Regions from separate parts of the Homo sapiens genome. Here regions 1, 3 and 4 are each linked to region 2. The links are contacts of gene promoters, found by promoter capture Hi-C in human tissues and cell types (Jung and others, 2019). All regions are on one chromosome and are shown on one strand. Each heading gives the region's core, a stretch centred on a gene start or on the middle of the fragment in contact. The rest is flanking DNA. Distances are from core to core; before and after follow the strand shown. Region 1 holds the start of CDC42BPG (CDC42 binding protein kinase gamma). Region 2 holds the start of TIGD3 (tigger transposable element derived 3). Region 3 has its middle 2.7 kb from the start of MAJIN. Region 4 overlaps MAJIN (membrane anchored junction protein).

Region 1 (2,700 bases), core at 41-2,540, 510 kb before region 2:
GGCAGACAGGCATAGCACGGAGGCATACCAGGGAGACAGGCACAGAGGCAGGGGCCTCTGACTGCCTCGCCCTGGATGGAAGGGTTGGGGCTAGGGGACAACTCCCTGGCACATCTAGGTGGCAGCCTCCCCCTCTACCCCAGGCCTTGTGCCTTCCCAGAGCTCAGGAGTGCCAGGAACGCTAGTTGCCCACTGGGCAAACACCTGCCTCACCCCGCCCTGGCCAGGCCCCCGTGCCTTTTCCCCATGGCCCGGCAGGGTGTGACCAGGGAACCCTCCAGCTGGCGCCAGTGCCCACAGTGGGTTCAGGGTCACCCCGGGCCAGCCACTCCCAATGACTCAGATGAGTCTACCAGGAAAGGTACAGACCCATCTCCAGCTAGGCCCCCCTCCCCGGCCCCGGCGCCACAGCCCCCAAGGAGCTTGGCCAGCAGCCTGCACAGGCCAAGGGTTGGAGATCGGTTCCTGAGTCCAGGCTGCAGTGGTCTTGTACCCAGGGAGCTGGGGGTGTGTGTGTTGGTGGGGGGAAGGTCTGCAAGTGTGCGATACCTACAGATCTGTGTGTTTTGCAGTGCCAATGCGGTCGGGGTGGTCTGCAGCGCTCCCTGGGTCTCTCCATGAGTTGTGTGTCTCAATGCATCCGAGAGGAAGGAGAAACAGAGCCCGTGTATCAGTGGGTGACATGCATGAGGGTCTGTGTGTGTCCTGCGTCAGGTGTGGCCTGTAAGCAAGGAAATCTGTAAGGGACTCTAGGCGGTGCACTGGGTACATGCGTCTGCGGTCGATACCTGAGCACAAGTTGGTATGTGTGTGCATGTGTCGGGGTCTGTGAGAGGGAGAGAGCGTGTGTGAGAATTGGAGTGAGGGTGAGGTGTGCAGGCGAGTGTGCGGGCCGCGGGGGTCCGGTGGTACGCGTCAGGGCCACTGCAGGGAGTCTGCGAGGGAAGCCCGTGGGGGTGCGGGTCCCTGCGGGAAAGTCTGCGGGTGCGGGGGTCTCGGCGCGATATCCCTAGGCCCGCCCCCGCTCCGTGCCGCCCCGCCACTCACCCCAGCTCAGGAACTGCGCCACGCTGCGCTCCCGCCGTAGGGGGCCGCTGCTGAGCTCGTGGTGCAGCGCCAGCAGCAGATCTAGGAGGCCGTCGAGCCCCGGGCAGCCGCCGGCCTCGCCCCGCGCCAGCTGCTCCAGCGCGCGCAGCCGCCGCTCCATGGCTGCGGCCGGAGCCTCGCTGCTCGGCTACAGTCTGGCCGCCCGCATGCCCGCCTGTCGGGCCGTCCGTCCGCCCAACCGTCTGAGGCTCTGTCCGCGCGTCCTCCCCCGCCCCTCTCCCGCCCTCCCCGCTGTCACCTTCCTCCGCCGCCGCCAGCGCGCCCTCACCTGGGCGCCGCGCCCCGCCCCCCGACGGACGGGCAGGTGCGCGCCGGCCAATGGGAGCCGCGGCTAGAGGTGAAGGTGGGGGCGGAGGCGCGCGGGGGCGGGCCCAACTCCCGGCCAGGAAGTGCGGGGGCGGGCCGGGGAGAACAACTGACTTCTGCGCGGGGCGCGGTGGGGTTCTGCGGGGTCGGAAAGACTCCCCAGATCCCCGCGCGGCCCCAGACCCAGACTTACCTGGGCCCTCCCTGGGCCCTGACCCAGGAGGCGCGGAGCACTGCAACTTCTCTCGCCCCCTGGGTCGCAGCCGCCTTGCCCTTGGCTAAGAGAGAGGGGCTAGGGACGCCCGCGGCCCCGGAGCCGGATGGGAATTGTAGTTCGCTCTCTCCATGGTTTGCCCGCGCTTGGCACCCATCGCCCCCCCGCCCCCGCCCAAAAAAAAGTTTCTGAATCTTACTTTGATTGTATCATTAGAGTTGATGTGGGAGACAGGAAGTTGGGGTAGGGATGGTCACGCCCATTTGGCAGATGGACACACTGAGGCTTGGGAAGGAGGAAGGCGAATTGAGGGGCTGAGGACAAGGTGGCTCTTAAGTTAGACCCTGGGGTGGAGGTGGAGCTGGGCTGGTACCAACACCACAGGCGTTTTAAGCTTCAGTAGGAGCAGGGCCTGAGGTCTGACCTGGAACGTGAAGGGCAAGGAGAGGTCTGAGATAGGCTGGAGGAGGTTGGGGAGGGGAGGGGCTGGCTCTGTCCAGTGGTATTTCTGATTTCTGTCCAGCTGGGATGGACCAGGCACCATGAGGAGAGATCAAAGGGTGGGACATATTGGTGGCTTCAGACAACACTTTTTTTTTTTTTTTTTTGAGACAGGGTCTCTCTGTCACCCATGCTGGAGTGCAGTGATGCAATCATAACTCACTGCAGCCTTGACCTCTTAGGCTCCTGCCTCAGCCTCTTGAGTAGCTGGGATTACAGGCAGATGCCACCACACCCAGCTGATTTTTTATTTTACTTTTTGGAGTCAAGGGTTATTGTTATGTTGACCAGGCTGGTCTCGAACTCCTGGGCTCAGGTAATCCTCCCACCTTGGCCTCCCGGAGTTCTGGGATTACAGACATGGGCAACTACACCCGGCCTAGACAACACTTCTTTCTCTTTTTTGAGACAGGGTCTCACTCTGTCCCCTAGGCTGGAGTGCAGTGGTGCAATCGTAGCTCACCACAGCCTCAACCTCCTGGGTTCAAGTGATCCTCCCACCTCAGCCTCCCGAATAGCTGAGACTACAGGCTCACACCACTAGGCCAGGCTGATGTTTTGTTTTTTGAGAT
Region 2 (2,700 bases), core at 153-2,652:
AATCTCAGACATTTAAAACAGGACCAGAAGTTTATATAAATATAATTAATAAGCAAACTAATGACATCACCATGGGACACACACAAAAGTTCTTGCAGGAGCAGGGTCTGTGTGGCTTCAGTTGCCTGCAGCGCTCCCAGGCCAGAGCAAGTGCTCTAGGATCTGAACTGCCCGCAGTGCAGCCCTGCAGCCTTTCCCAGGGCACGTTGATGTGCACACAGTTTCCCTGAAGGCAAAGTGAACATGTGGAGAGCTTACGTGGCAGCGCGTATGTCTTCAGTGTGTGTTTTAGAAGTCCAACTGTTGTTTTTATGTTTTTAAAGGAAAGATTTGAATCAAGCAGTTATGGGCCCCCTGAAGTATCCTTTTTTCTAGAACATTCTGAAAGTCATCCTTGCCTATGGGAAGCCTAGGCCGGCCTGCACTGTTATGTTCAATAAATAAGCAGGGTGCTCTGGGCTGGGGATTGTGTGAGGAGCAGAGCGCAGCCCGTCCTCATGCTTTTCCACTGAAGTAGGCCAGGCAGAGAGGGAGTACAGCAATGGATGCGCTTTGGCAGCTGAGTAGTCCGAGAGCCAGAAAAGAAATGTGGAAAATAAGAACGCTGTAGCAGGCCTAGGTGAGGAAATTTAGGAAGGGTTTGCGGGAGGTAGGATTTGAGATGGGTCTTGGAGAGTTGGACAGTGTCAGCCGGTAGGACGGGGGTGCGGACGGAAGCCTGTGAGGAAGGCAGAGGATGCGGAGCTGTGAGCGGAGGGAGCAGCGAGGCTGGAGAGCAGCTGGGCTGCGGGTCAAGACGTCTGCGTTTAATTCGGGACTGAAGGTTAGCAGGGAAGGGAACGATGCCAGATCTTGAGTTTAAGAACTTGAATCTTGTAAAGTACCAAATCTAATAAAATACTCGTCCTAAATCATTACTGGCCCAAGCATGCAGTGTTTCCGTGGCCGACAGACTCGAGCCAGCGCTGTCCATGGTAACCAGCTTTTGTGTGGCTTAAAGCTTGCATCCATTTTCTCCTTTCATCGTTTTCCCAAAACAATTCCGTGAGGGCTGTTAGCCCTGCTTGGTAGACGAAGAAGCCGATGCGGTCTAGGGTCACGGCCAGGGAGGCTTTGGGACGCCAAGTCAGCTCGGCGGTCACCACACCACCTACAGGGCTCGTCGGGCCCTCGGGGTCGGCGGCTGCTGGAGGCGCCCAGGGGAGTCCTGCTGGTTCCTGGCTCCGCCTCCCGCCCCTCCGCGCTAGAAGCCCCGCCCCCAGAGGGGCTCGACGAACCGCCACTTCCGCAACGTCCAATGAAACTTAGCCGGGGGAGGGACGGGGCGCCACTGAGGACCAATCTGCTTGGGCCGGGGCGGGGCTGCGGCGGGTGGGTGCAGAGGGGCCGCACCGCGGACTTCGCAGCCGGGAGAGAGCCCGGCGCGGGCGGCGCGCACGGGACTCTGCTGTGCGCGCGCCCGCCCGCCCGCCGTCCGCGCAGGCCCTCGGTCCGCTCTGCCCTCGGGGTCGTGGCGCCCATCCCTCCCCTGTTCTGCTGTCGCCGCCCGGACAGGGGCTCGGGAGCCGGGCTGGGGGCAGGGGCTGGAGCCGCGGGACCAGCGCCTGAGGTGGGTGCGGAGCGGGAGGCCGGGCGGGCGGGCGCCTGGGGCCGCCCCGCCGACATACTCCGGGTCGAGGGGGAGTGACCGGCCAGGGCACGGAGTCCGGCTGCCGGCCTGCCTGGGTCCGGGCGTTCGTTCCCGCGCCCTGGGACCCTCCCAGGCCACCACCCTCCCCGCGGGGACACCCCGCCCCTCCGCTGCCCGCAGCCTCCTCAGGCCTCCCGCCCTTTGTCGCTCGTGCACCTGCGCCCTCGGCCCTGCCCTCTCGCTCCCCTCAGGACTGACCGTCGCCTAGCCTCCCTCTCAGGACCCGGCACCAAATTAGCCTCGCTCCTTCAGACACCCTCTGTCCCCTTTGTCGTCTGTACACCTGTCACCTCAACTCTGTGTGCATCCACCCACCTCCCACCCCCCAGCGGCGTCATCTGAATCCAGCCCAAGCCGCCTCCCACTCCCTCCCGGGGGCTCCTCCCCCGCAGCCCCGTAGCCCCACACCTGCCCCCTCGGCCCCAGTCCCAGGCCCTCCCCCGTCCGTATGCCTTTGTTATCTCTGCAGCTGTCCCCTGCACTTTTCATCCTTCTTCCCGAGTGAGGCCAGACCCCAGCCCAGACTCCCCTGTCCTTCTGAGTGGAGAGACGCCCCCTCCCCAGCTCTGCCCTGGCATCCTGGGGACGGGGCCAGCCGGCTTCCACTCGGCCTAGCCACTTCCTCTTTCAGCGGGTCCAGTCTCACCCGGTGCCTGCGCAAGTCCTCATCTAATCTCTTTTCCCTCCTGCGCTCCTTTCCTAGCTCTTCCGGCCTCAGATTACTCTACCCGCTCAATCTTTCCTCCCCGCACAGGTGCCCCGGAGAGGCCATGGAGCTGAGCAGCAAGAAGAAGCTTCACGCCCTGTCCCTGGCCGAGAAGATCCAGGTGCTGGAACTCCTGGATGAGTCCAAGATGTCCCAGTCGGAGGTGGCCCGGCGCTTCCAGGTTTCCCAGCCCCAGATCTCGCGCATCTGCAAGAATAAGGAGAAGCTGCTGGCGGACTGGTGCAGCGGCACAGCCAACCGAGAGCGCAAGCGCAAGCGGGAGTCCAAGTACAGCGGGATCGAC
Region 3 (2,700 bases), core at 68-2,567, 380 kb before region 2:
CTCCAGTGCACTCCAGCCTGGGCTACAGAGTGAGGCTCCATCTCAAAAAAAAAAAAAGAAAGAAAGAAACTGCGAAGCAGTTTTCCAGAGTGGCTGTACCATTCTGCACTCCCGTCAGCAGAGTGTGAGAATTGCTCTGCATCCTTGCCAGCACTTGATATTTTCAGTTAAAAATTTTTTGCCATCCTAATAGATGTGTAGTGGTATCTAGTTATAGATTTAATTTGCATTTCCCTAACGACTAATAACGTTGAGCACCTTTTTATGGGCCCTTGGGATTCTTGAGAATTAATAAACCTATACCCTAACTCAGAAACAATTTACAGTGCTAAAGAGACTCGTATGGATTCAGACTTAGCCTGCCATACTGGAACATTTCAACAGCAACGCTCGCAGATGACAACAGAATTCAAAGCACATATACCAGATCTGTCAAGCCAGCCAGCACATGGCAAAAGCCTGGCAACAAAAAATAGCATGCTGTGTGTGTGTCTGTCTCCAAGAAGTTCAGTGTTACTTAACTATAAGAAACAGGTGGCCGTGTGCAGTGGCTCACACCTGTAATCCCAGCACTTTGGGAGGCGGAGGCGGGCAGATCACCTGAGGTCAGGAGTTTGAGACCAGCCTGGCCAACATGGTGAGACCCTGTCTCTACTAAAACAAACAAAAAACACACCACAAAATCAGCCAGGCAAGGTGGCATGCACCTTAATCCCAGCTACTTGGAGGCTGAGGCAGGAGAATCACTTGAAATCGGGGGGTGGAGGTTGCAGTGAGCTGAGACTGCACCATTGCACTCCAGCCCGGGCAAAAAATGTGAAACTTCATCTCAAAAAAAAAAAAAAAAAAAGAAAGAAAGAAAGAAAAGAAAAAGAAAGAAACAGGTGTGGAGTGGCAGGAGATATGGTTGAGGGGAGACACAGGGGCTAGACTACGAAGAAGCTTGTGCTGAGGTACTTGAGGTACTTGAATTTATCCCTACAGCAATAAGATGCTCTTAAAAGTTGGATTTTGGTCTCAGAAATATGTTCCTGAGGCCAGGCGTGATGGTTCACACCTGTAATCCCAACACGTTGGGAGACAGGAGGATCTCTTGAGGCCAGGAGTTCAAGACTCGCCTGGGCAACATAGTAAGACTCCATCTCCACAAAAAAATAAAAAAAATAGCCAGACATAGAAGTGCATGCCTGTATTCCCAGTTACTCAGGAGGCTGAGGGGGAGGATTGCTTGAGCCCAGGGGTCCAAGGCTGCAGTGAGCTGTGATCATGCCACTGCAGTCTGGCCTGGGGGACACATCGAGTCCCCCCGCAAAAAAAAAGTTCCTGGAACCTGGCTTCTTCATTTTCATTTTCATTTTCATTTTCTGCCTGCTTATTCTTACTTATCCTTCAAGGCCCAGCCCAAATGCCACCTCCTCTGAGAAGCCCTCTGTAATCCCCCTAGCCAGAAGATCAGGTCCCTTTTTTTTTTTTGCCTTTCCTTGTATTGACTGGCCAGTCTGCTTGGAGGGTGGGAACTGCAATTTACACCACTTTGGGCTTTTTTTTTTTTTTTTTTTTTTTGAGACGGAGTCTCCCTCTGTCGCCCAGGCTGGAGTGCAGCGGTGCGATCACGGCTCACTGCAAGCTCTGCCTCCCGGGTTCACGCCATTCTCCTGCCTCAGCCTCCTGAGTAGCTGGGACTACAGGCATCCACCACGACACCTGGCTAATTTTTTGTATTTTTAGTAGAGACGGGGTTTCACCGTGTTAGCCAGGATGGTCTCGATCTCCTGACCTCGTGATCTGCCCGCCTTGGCCTCCTGAAGTAGTGGGATTACAGGTGTGAGGCACCGCACCCGGCCACTTTGGGCTTCTTATGTGGCTTGACAAGGGATCTAGCACATAGAAGGTGCTAACCCATGTTTGATGAATGTTGATGAATTTTCAAATGAAGGAAGTTTACTGGGCAATCCAGCTCTGGAGTCCTGTCAGATTACACCAGTATTAGTTCTCAAACGTGGGCATGCATCAGAACTACCTAGAGGGCTTGTAGATTGCTGGACCGAGCCCCCAAGTTTCTGATTTAGTAGATCTGGGGGTCTGAGAATTTGCCTTTTGAACAAGTAAGTTCCCAGGTGCTGCTGCTGCTGGTAGAAGGGACCATACTCAGATAAACTTTGGATGAAACATTCTTTACATGTGGCTGTGGGTATAGTTCAAGTGCTTCTGAGAATCAAGCTCTGGCGGGGACACTCTCAAGGGACCATGAATCCTGTGCTTTATCACAACCATCTGACCACCTGACCCTTCAAGGGATGTCCTTGGTCTTGACTACTGTCCCACTCCTTTGACTTGGAGGCAGGATTACTTTACCCTCTCCTGGTCCCTTTATTTATTTTAATTAATTTATTTATTTTTGAGACAGAGTGTCGTTCCAGTGTCGCCCAGGCTGGAGTGCAATGGCACGATCTCGGCTCACTGCACCCTCTGCCTCCTGGGTTCAAGCAACTCTCCTGCCTCAGCCTCCCAAGTAGCTGAGATTACAGGTACCCACCACCAGGCCTATCTAATTTTTTTTGTATTTTTAGTAGAGATGGGGTTTTGCCGTGTTGGCCAGGCTGGTCTTTAACTCCTGACCTTTGGTGATCCACCCACCTCGGCCTCCCAAAGTGCTGGGATTACAAGCGTGAGCCACTGTGCCTGGGCTATTTATTTATT
Region 4 (2,824 bases), core at 33-2,532, 400 kb before region 2:
CAAGCGATTCTCCTGCCTCAGCCTCCCAAGTAGCTGGGATTACAGGTGCCTGCCACCACACCTGGCTAACTTTTGTATTTTTGGTAGAGATGGGGTTTCACTATGTTGGCCAGGCTGGTCACAAACTCCTGACCTCAGGTGATCCACCCGCCTTGACCTCCCAAAGTGCTGGGATTACAGGCGTGAGCCACAGAGCCCGGCTGTGTTTTTATACATATTAATTAATTTAACTCTCACAAAAACCCTGTGAGGCAATTCTGTTATTCCCATTTTACAGACGGGGAAACAGACAAAGAGAGGTGAAAAAATGTAGTCTAGGTTACATAACTAGAAATAGCAGGGCCAAGATCTGAACCAAGGCAGCAGGGTTCCAGAGCTCCTAGTCTTAACCCCTAGGCTAGCCTGCTTCTCAGTAAATGTTTTCTTTTTTTGTTTTTGAGATGGAGTCTCACTCTGTTGCCCAGGCTGGAGTGCAGTGGTGCGATCTCGGCTCACTGCAACCTCCGCCTCCCAGGTTCAAGCAATTCTCCTGCCTCAGCCTCCTGAGTAGCTTGGACTACAGGTACGTGCCACCACACCCAGCTAATTTTTGTATTTTTAGTAGAGACGGGGTTTCGCCATGTTGGCCAGTCTGGTCTTAAACTCCTGACCTCAGGTGATCCACCTGCCTCGGCCTCCCAAAGTGCTGGGATTAAAGGTGTGAGCCACAGCGCCCAGCCTCAGTAAGTGTTTTCTAAATGAAGAAAAGAGAATGATAACATCTGACCCCAAACTAGTGAGCATAAGAGAAAGATGCATATGCATATCAAATGCACCTTGGAAATATGACATACGTTGAATGTAAATACTCTCGAGCTACTAATTATTGAGCTACTGTGTGGCAGGCATTGCAGACATCTATTTCTAATCCTCAGTCTTGAAACAGGCCTTCTTTATTAACCTCATTTGACAGGTAAGGAAACAGACTCAGGGAGGGTAGGTACTTTGCCCGAAGTCAAACTGTGAATGGCAGAACACTTCTCATAGTAATTACTCAATAAATATTAGCTATTATAATTAGAAGCTAGACACTATCCTAGTATGGAGACTTCAAATCCAGGTTTGACTGGCTCTAAAGTCTGTGTTCCCTCCTCTCTGTTATGCTTCCGTGAGCTTTTCACTGCTCAGGTTAACTGAAGCAAAGTGAAATAAAGCCTGCTCTGCTCATAATTAAAATAGGTAGAATGGCCGGGTGCAGTGGCTCACACCTGTAATCCCAACACTTTGGGAGGCCGAGGCTGGTGGATCACGAGGTCAAGAGATCGAGACCATCCTGGCCAACATGATGAAACCCCGTCTCTACTAAAAATACAAAAATTAGCTGGGCGTGGTGGTGCACATCGGTAGTCCCAGCTGCTTGGGAGGCTGAGGCAGGAGAATCGCTGGAACTTGGGAGATGGAGGTTGCAGTGAGCCAAAATCGTGCCACTGCACTCCAGCCTGGTGACAGAGCGAAACTCCATCTCAAAAAACAAACAAACAAACAAACAAAAAACCAGGTAGAACATTTTCTTGGTCCTATGTTAAAATAACTTATTCATAATGATATCCTTGAGGGTCCTGCAAGATCCTAATGTATCTTTTAACACTTAGCCAAAGAGGTACCTTCTTAAGGGTATGACTCAGTTTTGGTTTCACAGAGTTTTGTGTTTAAGTGTATTTAATTGCTTTGAAATGTGGAGGCATATGTCTTAAGAAATCACAATAGTCACAAATTACCGAATTGTGAAGTCAGAAGAGGAAAAGCTAGTTTAGACCTCTCATTTTCCAAATGAGGCAATTAAGATCCAAGTTGATATATGATTTGCCAACGGTCACACAGCTAAGTGGTGGCTATGCCAGGACTGGAATCCAGGGCCAACCCCCAGAACTCTAACTCCTTGTCCATTGCTTCCACCAATTTGTAAAGTTGATCACCTGCTCAGTCTTCTTCTGTAGGAAAACCTAAAGCTAGAGGAACCGGGTAGAAAGGAATGAAAATGAAGTCGGAATAAGGCAATTGCAAATGTTGCCAATTTAAATGAAGACACAGCAGCCTTGTCTGTGTATTTACAGTCGAGTTTCCTGAACGTCAAGTACCAGGCAGTGGTTGGGATGGTGAGGTTTCCCAGAGCCCTGGAAGGAGGCAGTCCTCCGGAATCTTTCTCTATGCCAGCTGCAACAAAAGAGAGCTGCCCAAGGCTGGAAACTGGTGAAAACAAAAAGCTCTCAGCCTCAAAGGTGCTGACATTTCAACTAGGAAAACTGAGAAAGAATACAGGCTTTAAATTCCCATGGAAAAACATAAAGTTCCTTTGCAAAGGAGATGTAGCAGGAGGAAGCCAAGTTATCAAGTGGAGGTTGTGACTCAGTTTGTAGGAAATAATTAAAACCTGAATGTGGATGCATCCTTAAAGAGTAACTTTTCCAGAAGTCGTATGCTTCTTTCCCTACCTCCAGCTCCTGGGTGATGACTTCCTTATTTTCTATCTCTTCTCCTCTAGAAGGTAAACAGACAAGAGACAAGTAAGACATGAAGGAAAGCTCTGGAGAGAGTAGACTCTACTAGGGCAAAAATAACACTTCCACTGAGCTAAAGAAACATGACATAAGTAAAACTGTGTAAGCTGACCCAGTGCTCATGGGGAAGAAGTGATCACCTAGGTGGCGTGGTCTGAACATTGGTATAAAATGACTTCTCAACCTGCCAAGACCTGAAATTCCCACTGTGAAAGTTAATCATTGGTTACAACAGTTGTACTTTAAGTGTGCTTTGGGGACCCTTTCAATGGGTCTTCAAGGGTAAA

Evidence for each region. The method cuts DNA at HindIII sites, captures the fragments that hold promoters and counts their contacts. A contact is called where the count stands out against the background at its distance.
Region 1: a contact is called between the fragment with the promoter of CDC42BPG here and the fragment with the promoter of TIGD3 in region 2, in 1 of the 25 tissues and cell types used here (pancreas).
Region 3: a contact is called between a fragment that was not itself captured here and the fragment with the promoter of TIGD3 in region 2, in 1 of the 25 tissues and cell types used here (heart right ventricle).
Region 4: a fragment that was not itself captured here is called in contact with the fragment with the promoter of TIGD3 in region 2 in 1 of the 25 tissues and cell types used here (dorsolateral prefrontal cortex).

The regions. Positions count from the first base shown.
Region 1 is chr11:64,843,363-64,846,062 of GRCh38, forward strand. It overlaps CDC42BPG (CDC42 binding protein kinase gamma), which reads right to left and starts at 1,291. Exons shown (of 37, transcript NM_017525.3): 1 at 1,048-1,291. The coding sequence starts at 1,207. RefSeq lists an enhancer at 1-766 and silencers at 981-1,030, 1,061-1,110, 1,121-1,470. The HindIII fragment of the contact is 4,484 bases long and covers 658-2,700 here.
Region 2 is chr11:65,353,349-65,356,048 of GRCh38, forward strand. TIGD3 (tigger transposable element derived 3) reads left to right here and starts at 1,403. Exons shown (of 2, transcript NM_145719.3): 1 at 1,403-1,609; 2 at 2,445-2,700. The coding sequence starts at 2,461. DPF2 (double PHD fingers 2) reads left to right here. Exons shown (of 11, transcript NM_006268.5): 11 at 1-914. RefSeq lists silencers at 1,131-1,190, 1,281-1,600, 1,621-1,680, 1,691-1,860, 1,921-2,110. The HindIII fragment of the contact is 4,951 bases long and covers 1-2,700 here.
Region 3 is chr11:64,973,412-64,976,111 of GRCh38, forward strand. No RefSeq gene overlaps it. Among named protein-coding and RNA genes, the nearest start is that of MAJIN, 2.7 kb to the left of the region's middle. The HindIII fragment of the contact is 2,434 bases long and covers 101-2,534 here.
Region 4 is chr11:64,952,286-64,955,109 of GRCh38, forward strand. MAJIN (membrane anchored junction protein) reads right to left here. Exons shown (of 11, transcript NM_001037225.3): 4 at 2,472-2,517. Among named protein-coding and RNA genes, the nearest start is that of GPHA2, 18 kb to the left of the region's middle. The HindIII fragment of the contact is 9,200 bases long and covers 1-2,824 here.